Linked DNA regions of Homo sapiens: region 1 is linked to region 2. Evidence: promoter capture Hi-C in human tissues and cell types (Jung and others, 2019). All regions are on one chromosome and are shown on one strand. Each heading gives the region's core, a stretch centred on a gene start or on the middle of the fragment in contact. The rest is flanking DNA. Distances are from core to core; before and after follow the strand shown. Region 1 has its middle 4.0 kb from the start of OR7G3. Region 2 holds the start of ZNF699 (zinc finger protein 699).

Region 1 (6,047 bases), core at 2,313-4,812, 190 kb after region 2:
GGATATGTCAGGGAGAAAGAAGTAATGAGAAGTCTTGAAAGCCTGACTAATGTCTTTGGGGTTTTCTGTTTTTGTTTTTGTTTTTGTTTGTTTGTTTGTTTTTTGAGATGGAGTCTCGCTCTGTTGACCAGACTGGAGTGTAGTGACGCAATCTTGGCTCACTGCAACCTCCGCCTCCTGGGTTCAAGCGATTCTCCTGCTTCAGCCTCCGGAGTAGCTGGGATTACAGGCACGTGCCACCAAGCCCAGCTAATTTTTCTATTTTTAATAGAGACGGGGTTTCACCACATTGGCCAGGATGGTCTCGAACTCCTGACCTCAGGTGATCTGCCCGTCTCAGCCTCCCAAAGTGCTGGGATTACAGGCATGAGCCACTGTGCCCCACCTGACCAATGTCTTTGAATACATGAGACCAGAGATCAGATGGTTCAGGGTGATAGTTTTGGAATCGGACCACGTGGACTTGAGTTCTTTTTGGATTGATTGACTGACTAATTGATTTTTGAGACAGTCTCTCACTTTGTTGCCCAGGCTGGAGTGCAGTGGTGTGATCACAGCTCACTGCTGCCTCGAATTCCTGGGCTAAAGCGATCCTCTGGACTCAGCCTGACGAGTAGCTGAGACTGCAGGTGCATGCCACCACACCTGGCTTTTTTTAAATTTTTGTATCAATGCATAAGAGATGTACATTGTTTCAGGATGCATGTGATAGTGTAATACATTTGTATAATCTGCAAGGATTTGTTACTTTAGATATCCATCACCTTAAATATTTGTCTTATCTTTATGCTCCAACCATTCCAATTGTTCTCTTCTAGGTATTTTGAAATATACAATGGATTATTTTGAACTATAGTCACCCTACTGGTCTATCCAATACTAAGTCTTTTTTTAAAAAAAATTAAATTTAATTAAAAATTTAAAAACTTATTTATTTATTTATTTATTTATTTATTTATTGAGACAGAGTCTTGCTCTGTCGCCCAGTCTAGAGTGCAGTGGCTCAATTTCGGCTTACTGCAACCTCCACCTCTGGGGCTCAAGCGATTCTCCTGCCTCAGCCTCCTGAATAGCTGGGATTACAGGCGCCTGCTACTGTGCCTGGCTCATTTTTGTATTTTTAGTAGAGACAGAGTTTCACCATGTTGGCCAGGCGGGCCTTGAACTCCTGACCTCAGGTAATCTGCCCGCCTCAGCCTCCCAAAGTGCTGGGATTACAGGCATGAGCCACCATGCCCAGCTAGCTAATTTATTTTTAATTTAAAAATTAAGTAATTTATTTACAATTTAAAAATCAAGTAATTAATTTTTAATTTTAATATTAAATGATTAATTTCTTTTTTAGAGAGAGCCTTGCTCTGTTGCCGAGGTTGAACTACAGTGGTGTGATTATAACTCACTGCAGCCTCAAACTCCTGGCCTCAAACAATCCTTCTGCCTCAGCCTTCCAAAGTGCTGGGATTAAGCAGTGTGAGCCACTGTGCCCAGGTCGCCTATACTTTAAATCATTTCTAGATTACTTATATTACCTAGCATAATGTTAATCCTATGTAAATAGTTGTATTACTTAATATTGTATTTTTGTAATATTCTTATTTAATATTTTTAAAATTTTCTTTAATATTTTTAATATTTTTGATCCACAGTTGGTTGAGTCCATGAATGTGGTACTGGCAGATATGGAAGGCTGACTGTACTTGGTATATATATTGTTAAAATTGTCAGAATCAAAATGGAGTCACTTATTAAAAAAAAAAAAGGCTGGGTGTAGCGGCTATCAAAAAAGTCTGCACTTTGATAGGCTGAAGTGGGCGGATCACAAGGTCAGGAGTTCGAGACCAGCCTGGCCAACATGGTGAAACCCCATCTCTATGAAAAATACAAAAATTAGCCAGACGTTGTGGCGCATATCTGTAATCCCAGCTACTCAGGAGGCTGAGGCATGAGAATCGCTTGAACCTGGGAGGCGGAGGTTGCAGTGAGCCAAGATCGCACCACTGCATTCCAGCCTGGGCGACAGAGCAAGACTCCATCTCATGAAAAACAAACAAACAAACAAAAATGAAAAAAACAAAAACATCCTGACAAGTAAAGCTAGGGAAGGCCATGAAGAGATTTATTTCACTTGCATGCCTAATAACAAAAACTATCACAAGACTACAAAAACTATCACGAGACGACAAAAACTATCACGAGACGACAAAAACCACAACCTTGCACAAAAGGCTGTTGCAACCTTACACAAAAAATATTTCTGCAAGTACATCTGCCCAGCAACTGCCTGTCCAGCTTCAGACTGGCATCACCCTTGTTATTAGTTATTACTGTGAAGGATAATTATTTCAAAACAATTATGTAACCTTCCTCATTTTTCCATTAAAAAACTTTGTCTTCCTTTACCTCCTTGAATGCATACATAGTTTATGATGGCACGCGTATCGCTATTGCAATGCTTTCTTTGGCAATAAACATCATTTTCTTTTAGATAGCCTCTTTCTGTTATTTAGGTTGACTATCTATAGTTATATTGATTTATGTTTGTGCTGTTGAATTTCAAAGGAATTGAAATCAATATGCTGAAGAGATATCTGCACTCTCATGTTCATTGCAGTATTAGTCACAATAGCCAGGAAATGTAATCAACCTGAATGTCCATCAACATATAAGTGGATAAAGAAAATGTGGTATGGCAGGCACGGTGGCTCACGCCTGTAATCCCAGCACTTTGGGAGCCTGAGGTAGGTAGATTACTTGAGGTCAGGAGTTCAAGACTAGCCTGGCCAACATGGTGAAACCGTGTCTCCACTAAAAATACAAAAATTAGCCAGGCATGATGACGTATGCCTGTAATCCCAGCTACTCAGGAGGCTGAGGCAGGAGAATCACTTGAACCCAGGAGGCGGAGGTTGCAGTGAGCCGAGATCGCACCACTGCACTCTAGCCTGGGCAACAGAGTGAGACTTTGTCTGGAAAAGAAAAAGAAAATGTGGTATATGATAGAGTACTATGCACCCTTTAAAAAGAAGGAAATTCTGTCATTCGCCACAACATGGAGGAACCTGGAGAACATTATGCTAAGTGAAATAAGCCAGGTACAGAAAGACAAATACTGCATGATCTCAACCATGTGTAGAATCCAAAAGAGCTGATCTCATAAAATCAGAATAAAATAATGGCTACTGCAGTCAGGCACGGTGGCTGATGCCTGTAATCCCAGCACTTTGGGAGGCCGAGGCGGGTGGATCACGAGGTTAGGAGTTCAAGACCAGCCTGCCCAACATGGTGAAACACTGTCTCTACTAAAAATACAAAAATTATCCGGGTGTGGTGACGCTTGCTTGTAGTCCCAGCTACTCAGGAGGCTGAGGCAGGAGAATCACTTGAACCTGGGAGGCGGAGGTTGCAGTGAGCCGAGATCATGCCACTGCACTCCAGCTTGGGTGACAGAGGGAGACTCCGACTCAAAAAAAAAAAAAAAAAAACAATAAAAATAAATAAATAAAAATAACTTTCTGGTCTATTTTGCAACTTGCATATTTGGTGATATTCTTCTCTCTGGGGTCATGTTTTCTTATTCTCAAATAGCCTTGTCTGTTTTGAGAATGCCGTCAGCAAGTAATAAAGCTTTTTTCAGCTGTGAGTCTCACCTCCCATTTGTTTCCCGATTCTACAGGGCGGGTTGGGGGGTGTACATTAGCTCTGCCGTTTCTGACTCTTCAAGGAGGGCTGCGGTGGCTTCAGTGATGTACACAGTGGTCACACCTATTATGAACCCCTTTATCTACAGCCTGAGGAACAGAGATATGAAGAGAGCCTCGGGGAAACTCATTGGTAGGATAACTTCTCTTCCTGATTATGTTGTCCACTTTGGACTTGGGATTCAAAGTGGGTCAAAGACACAGAAATACTGGTGAGCCAGAATGCCTGACTGATCTATCACTGAGTTTTCTAAAATGATTAGATAACATAGTGGGTAAGTACATTTTAACTTGGGGTTGAAACATCACTTGTTCTTTGTGTGTAGCTCTGTGATTGTACGAAAACGAGTTCCACGGCCGGGCGCGGTGGCTCACGTCTGTAATCCCAGCACTTTGGGAGGCCGAGGCGGGAGGATCACGAGGTCAGGAGATCGAGACCATCCTGGCTAACACGGTGAAACCCCGTCTCGAATAAGAATACAAAAAATTAGCCGGGCGTGGTGGCGGGCACCCGTAGTCCCAGCTACTTGGGAGGCTGAAGCGGGTGAATGGCGTGAACCCAGGAGGCGGAGCTTGCAGTGACCTGAGATGCCGCACTGCACTCCAGCCTGGGCGACAGAGCGAGACTCCGTCTCAAAATAAATAAATAAATAAATAAAAATTAAAAATAAATAATAAAAAAAAATTAGTTCCATTCTCCAAGCTCAGTTTTTCTCTTTTTCTTTTTCTTTTTCTTTCTTTCTTTTTTTTTTTTTTTTGAGACAGAGTCTGTTCTGTCACCCAGGCTGGAGTGCAGTGGTGCAGTCTCGGCTCACTGTAGCCTCCGCCTCCTAGGTTCAAGCAATTCTCATGCTTCAGTCTCCGGAGTAACAAGGATTACAGGCAAGCATCACCACGCCCAGCTAATTTTTTTCTATTTTTAGTAGAGACGGGGTTTCGCCATGTTGGCCAGGGTGATCTCGAACTCCTGGGATCAAGAGATTCTCCCGCCTCGGCCTCCCAACGTGCTGGGATTACAGGCCTGAGTCACCAGGCCGACCACCACCACATTTCTTATCAACCCTGGGACAACACATTCTACCCTTAACGCTACTTCATTTCCTGCTCACTTTCCACAGAGTCAGCAAACTTTCCCCAAGGTGGTATCTGAACACTTGCCTCATGACTTTTCCCTTTCTGAGTCTCTGAACATTTCAATTTTTTCTTTATTTTGGTTTTAGAGACACAATCTTGCTGTGTTGCCCAGGCTGGAGAACCAGAAATAGAAATAAAACTAATTTTTGTGACTTTCAATGTGATAAAGCAATAAGATGAGAAAACTTTTATTAATTTCTGGTTCAAAGACATATTTTAGTGTGACATAATCATAAATATTCATGTAATAGTAGTGCCAGTAACAACCAAGAAAAAAACAGAGAAAATTTATCAAAAAATAGCTACAACCAAAGGCTCACATCCAAGAAGCAACTGAAGTAGCTTACACACCTCCAGAAAAAGATTTTACTCTCTTTTAAAATGATTTCTAGAAATAACTGTTTTTTAAAAATCCTGAATAGCCAAGATAACCCTATGCAAAAGGAACAAAGCTGGAGGCATCACACTATCTGACTCCAAACTACACTACAGGGCTACAGTAATCAAAACAGCATGGTTCTTGTACAAGAACAGACAAATAGACCAATGGAACGGAATAGAGAACCCAGAAATAAGACCGCACACCTTCAACTATCTGATCTTTGACAAACCTGACAAAAACAAGCAATGGGAAAAGGATTCCCTACTCAATCAATGGTGCTGGGATAACTGGCTAGCCATATGCAGAAGATTGAAACTGTACCCCTTCCTTAAATTATATACAAAAATTAACTTAAGACAGATTAAAGACTTAAATGTAAAACCCAAAACTATAAATACCCCAGAAGACAACCTAGGTAATACCATTTAGAACATAGGCACGAGCAAAGATTTCATGATGAAGACACCAAAAGCAACTGCAACAAAAGCAAAAATTGGCAAATGGGATCTAATTAAACTAGAGAGCTTCTAAACAGCGAAAGAAACTATCATCACAGTGAACAAACAACCTACAGAATGGGAGAAAATTTTTGCAATCTATCCATCTGATGAAGGTCTAATATCCAGCATCTTTAAGGAACTTAAACCAATTTACAAGAAAAAAAAACCATTTAAAAAGTGAGCAAAGAACATGAACAGACATTTTTCAAAAGAAGACATATAGGCGGCCAACAATCATATAAAAAAAAGCTCAATATCACTGATCATTAGGGAAATGCAAATCAAAACCACAGTGAGATATCATCTCACATCAATCAGAATGGCTATTACTAA
Region 2 (5,796 bases), core at 2,277-4,776:
GGAAACCCCACTTTCCATGCCCAAGTAACAAAAGGACCAGAGGCTATTGCCTTTGCAATCCCTCACCTTTTTTGCATGGCAGATGAAAAATTGAAATTACTTCTGATTGGCCGGGCATGGTGGCTCACACCTGTAATCCCAGCACTTTGGGAGGTCAAGGCAGGTGGATCACCTGAGGTCAGGAGTTCGAGACCAGCCTGACCAACATGGAGAAACTCCATCTCTACTAAAAATACAGAATTAGCCGGGTGTTGTGGCACATGCCTGTAATCCCAGCTACTCGGGAGGCTGAGGCAGGAGGATTGTTTGAACCCAGGAGGTGAAGGTTGCAATGAGCTGAGATTGCACCACTGCACTCCGGCCTGGGCGACAGAGCGAGACTGAGTCAAAAACAAACAAACAATAAAAAAACCTACTGTTATGCGTACTGTAGGAAGCAGCCCTACTGGGTCTGTGGGTTTTTCTCTTCGTGTGTGGAGACAAGAGATCATAGAAATAAAGACACAAGACAAAGAGATAGACAAAAAGACAGCTGGGTCCGGGGAACCACTACCACCAAGGTGCAGAGACCAGTAGCGGCCCCGAATGCCTGGCTGCACTGTTATTTATTGGATACAAGACAAGGAGGGAGGGTAAGGAGTGTGAGCCATCTCCAATGATAGGTAAGGTCACGCGAGTCACGTGTCCACCAGACAGGGGGCCCTTCCCTGTTTGGCAGCTGAGGTGGAGAGAGAGAGAGGACAGCTTACGCCATTATTTCTTCTATGCATTTCAAAGACTTTAGTACTTTCACTAATTCCGCTACTGCTGATTAGAAGGCAGAACCAGGTGTACAGGGTGGAACATGAAAGTGGACCAGGAGTGTGACCACTGAAGCACGGCATCACAGGGAGACGTTTAGGCCTCTGGATGGCTGCGGGCGGGCCTGACTGATGTCAGGCTTTCCGCAAGAGGTAGTGAGCAGAGTCTTCTCTAACTCCCCCGGGGAAAGGGAGACTCCCTTTCCCTGTCTGCTAAGCAATGGGTGCCTTCCCCAGGCACTGACGCTACTGCTAGACCAAGGTCCGCTAGGTAACGGGCTCCTTCCCAGGGGCTGGCATTACCGCTAGACCAGGGAGCCCTCTGGTGGCTCTGTCCAGGCATAACAGAGGGCTCACCCTTGTCTTCTGGTCACTTCTCACCATGTCCCTTCAGCTCCTATCTCTGTATGGCCTGGTTTTTCCTAGGTTATGATTGTAGAACAAAGATTATTATAATATTGGAATAAAGAGTAATGCTACAAATGATTAATGATATATACAATCATATCTATAATCTATTTCTAGTATAACTACTCTTATTCTATATATTTTCTTTATTATACTGGAACAGCTTGTGCCCTCGGTCTCTTGCCTTGGCACCTGGGTGGCTTGCCACCCACGCGTACAAAGAAGGCAGAAAGGAAATACAGAAAATTCAAACACTGCTGGGATTCTGAATGTTGTTTGTCTTTTCCTTATACTTTTCCTTTAAAATAAAAAACTACAATGAGAACATAATGCTTCATAATAGAAAAAGATTTACACTTAAAAAACATAGATGATGAAAGGGAGCTGGCTAGGGCACCAGGGACAGGCATTGGGAAGGTGACCTCAAGCCGCAGTGAAGAAGTAATGAACAACCTAGGGACCAATACAGAAAGGCCACCTGTGGTTCACTTATATAACACATCTCTACCTCATATTATACCAAAATACATTCCCTGAGCAGTAAAGAATTATACGTTTTAAAAAGCAGTACAATTTGGAAGTAAATTAGGAAGTATTTTTATATTTTAGAGTTTGGGGAGACATTTAAAAGCAAACTAGGAAACTCAGAAACCATTTTACTAAAAGTATAGATTCATTGGGGATATATAAAATTGAATATATATATTTTTGAGATGGAGTCTTTCTATTGTCGCCCAGGCTGGAGTGCAATGGCGCGATCTCAGCTCACTGCAACCTCTGCCTCCCAGGTTCAAGCGATTCTCCTTGCCTCAGCCTCCTGAGTAGCTGGGATTACAGGCACCCGCCACCATGCCCAGCTAATTTTTTGTATTTTTAGTAGAGATGGGGTTTCACCATGGTAGCCAGGCTGGTCTTGAACACCTGACCTCAGGTAATCCACCGGCCTCGGCCTCCCAAAGTGCTGGGATTACAGGCATGAGCCACTGCGCCTTGCCTAAAATTAAATATTTTATATGGATATCATATTATAAACTAAGAGGAGCAAAATTATGTTATCAACTCAATTGTTGCATAAACATTTGATAGTGTTCATAAAAAATTATTGATAAAATATCTTTATAAACCTGGTTTAAAAAGATTAACTTGATAAGAGGTGCAACCTGTTGTAAACAGCTTACTGAGGAACTTTGGTAATCATTACCGACCAAGACAAGAATGCTTAATTTCTTTCCGACTTATAGTTGAGGAAGCCCTAAACAAACAATAAGAAAAAGAAATGACTCTGGGTGTGGTGGCTTACACCTGTACCCCTAGCACTCTGGGAGGCTGAGGTGAGAGGATAGCTTGAGCTCAGGAGTTTGAGACCAGCTTCAGCAACATAGTGCGATCCCATCTCTACAAAAAAATAAAGAAAATAGCTGGGTGGGGTGGTACGCGACTGTATTCTCAGCTACTTGGGGGGCTGAGATGGGACCATCACTTGAGCTGGGGAAGTCAAGGCTGCAGTGAGCCATGGTCGCGCCACTGCACTCCAGTCTAGGCGATAGAATGAGACATTGCCTCACATAAAGAAATGAGTTATACACATTAAAACAATGAAAATATGCAGAGAAAATATTTATATTTGATGGTTCAAATAATAAACTGACAGCTATCAGAATTCAGCAAGTTTCCAGGAAAAAGGTTCTATTTAAATAATTATCAATGGCTTCCCTCTACAGGAGAAGTTATCAATACAACAATGAAAGGGAAAACTAAAAGGCCCAAAAGGACTGAGTGAGTGTCAAGGAGAGTCTGTTTCCTATTAGAGCTGCAAATATATGTGTCCTGTGTACAGGACTGTAGCAACGTGGAGGATAGGTAGAAACCCGATCGATGAGCATCCTGTATCCGTGGTAGCTGAGAACCTGGATGGGAAGCCCTAGCCTTAGCCCCATCCCTAGGCCTTGTCACTTAAGCCCCGCCCAGCCCTCGTCTCCGCCCCCTAGGAATTTCTACCAAGCCCCGCTCCCAATCTGGTTCCACCTTTAGCCCCGCCCCTTGGAGTATTTAAAAGGCCACGCCCCTAGGTCTAGCCCCAGTTCCGCCCCTCAGGCCGAGTCATGCAAGTCCAGTTCAGGGTTCTGTTTCTTCTCTGTTTACTCCAAATCATGAAGAAACTAGGATTTCTCATCCACTTGCGGCTGGAACCAGCCTTGGCGCTCCTTTGCATCCCGCTCCTACCTGCTCCACCCCCTTCACCTCAAGTCCCGCTTCCCAGGCCCCGCCCCATACGCCATTTGCAGCGCCGAAAGAGGAATCAGAAGTGTGCTTCTGCGCATGCGCGAGTCGACAGCCTTGTCACCCTACGCCTCCGCCCGCGTCTGAGGAACATTTTTGCCTCCGCCCGCTTCCTGTCCTGCCCTGCCCCGCCCCGCCCTGCCTGCCCCGGGTCGGGTCCGCGGGAGACCGAGGGCTGGGTTTGGGAATCGGCGGTCTAAGGGCTGCCTCCCCGCCACTCCTTGTCCGGACCCCGCGCCCGGGGCCTCCCGCCGCCGCGGCGCCTCCTCAGAGAGCCCGGGTCAGCTGCCCCTGTGGCCGCGGCTGGTCCCAAACTCACTGAATCGGGAACTCTGGTCTGGGTACAGAAATCGGGGTGATTCTGATGCAGGCGAGAGTTGGAGAACCAATGTCGTAGTTCATCAGCCTCCGAAAGCATCCTTTGCTCTCTTTCCAGAAAGGAAGAGCATCTCTGCCATTCGTGTCTCAAGGACAAGCGCTTCAGCCTCGTTCTCTGTGAGCTGATCTGTGGATCGCGGCGTGTCGGGTGAGCACGGGGTGACATTTGCCTCGGCTCGGTCCCCTCCTGTCCCCTCTTTATGCATTAGGTAGTGTTTGGGCCAAGCGCGGTGGTTCACGCCTGTAATCCCAGCACTTTGGGCGGCCGAGGCGGGCGGATCGCTTGAGCCCAGGAGTTTGAGGCCAGCCTGGGCAACATAGCAAGATCCCGTCTCTACCAAAAAAAAAAAAAAAAAAAAAAGTAAAATAAAAGGTGCTCTCCTGTGTTCCCAGCTACTCGGGAGGCAGAGGTTGCAGTGAGCTGAGATCGCATCACTGCACTCCAGCCTGGGCAACAGAGCGAGACACTGTCTCAAAAAAACAAAAAGATAGTATTTGGTCTCTGGATATTATATTCTGCCTGTGGACATCAGTTTGATACATTATATTCAAGTGAAAGTGAACTGATGCATTTTGTCATTAATGATGCATTTGAATCATTTGTCTATAGATTGGTTAAATTTCACACAGAAAATTTGGTCATCTGTCAGTTTCAATCTTTTCCCTTTTTATTCCTTGCAGTTTCCATTTCTTTTCATTTCTTTACTGCACTTGCCAGGACCTCCAGTACAATGTCCGACAGAATAGCATGTAATTTACATCCTGTCTTGTTTCTGATTCCAGAGGGAATTATTCTATCATTTCACCATTAAATAGGATGTTTGCTGTAGGTGTTTGTAGGTTTTTTTCCTTTCTTTATTCCTATTTCTTTTTAGAAAATAGGAGTCTCGCTCTGTTGCCCGGGCAGGTCTCGAACTCATGGGCTCTCCGCCTCCCAAAGTGCTGGAATTACAGGCATGAGCCACTGCACCCGGCCTGACCGTGTTTTAAACCGCTGATTTTTTTTTCTTTAATTACTGGGTGTAATCAGGTTTTAGATCACTGCTTGAAAGTTGTACTACTTTCTAGAAATTCATTAATTACCTGTGCATCTTCATATTTATTCCTTAAATTTTTTCTATATTCTCCTTATGATATCTGTAATTATGATTAATTCTTGTTCATTTTTTTTTTGTTGTTGTTGTTTATGCCCTGTTGCTCTTAAAATTGCTGAGTCTGTTGCTGGCTGCAGTGGCGCATATCTGTAGTCCCAGCTGGTGGGAAGCTAAGGCAGATGGATCGCTTGAGCCTAGGAAATGAGATCAACCTGGGAACATAAAGAGTCTGTCTTAAACAATAAATTAAATTAAAAAATTTTTTTAAAAAGCTGAGTTTGTCAGTTTCATTAGTTTTTCTTTTTGCAAAGGATGCTTTTTTAGCTTTTCTGATTTTGTTTACTATGTTTTAAAAAAGATTATTTTCTATTTTCTTTCTAAACTTTTATGCTGGTCTTTATTCAACTTTATATATCAATAGTCTAGCCTATTAATACCGATTTTTTTTTTTTTTTTTGAGACAGAGTCTCGCTGTGTCTCCCAGGCTGGAGTGCAGTGGCGTGATCTTGGCTCACTGCAACCTCTGCCTCCTGGGTTCAAACAATTCTCTGCCTCAGCCTCCCAAGTAGTGGCGATTACAGGCACCTGCCACCATGCCCAGCTAATTTTTTTGTATTTTTAGTAGAGGTGGGTTTCACCATCTTGGCCAGGCTGGTCTTGAACTCCTGACCTTGTGATCCACCCACCTTGGCCTCCCAAAGTGCTGGGATTACAGGTGTGAGCCACCGTGCCTGGCCAGTACTGATTTTTTTTCCTCTAGGAGTTGATAATGCTTATAAATATATAATAGATATACTAAACCCTCTGAAATTCCAGCATGATCTGAAATAGTTATT

Evidence for each region. The method cuts DNA at HindIII sites, captures the fragments that hold promoters and counts their contacts. A contact is called where the count stands out against the background at its distance.
Region 1: a contact is called between a fragment that was not itself captured here and the fragment with the promoter of ZNF699 in region 2, in 1 of the 25 tissues and cell types used here (H1 embryonic stem cells).

Annotation. Positions count from the first base shown.
Region 1 is chr19:9,119,936-9,125,982 of GRCh38, reverse strand. It overlaps the pseudogene OR7G15P. Among named protein-coding and RNA genes, the nearest start is that of OR7G3, 4.0 kb to the left of the region's middle. The HindIII fragment of the contact is 3,758 bases long and covers 1,684-5,441 here.
Region 2 is chr19:9,307,568-9,313,363 of GRCh38, reverse strand. ZNF699 (zinc finger protein 699) reads left to right here and starts at 3,526. Exons shown (of 6, transcript NM_198535.3): 1 at 3,526-4,014. RefSeq lists silencers at 957-1,251, 3,607-3,856 and an enhancer at 3,427-3,546. The HindIII fragment of the contact is 17,114 bases long and covers 1-5,796 here.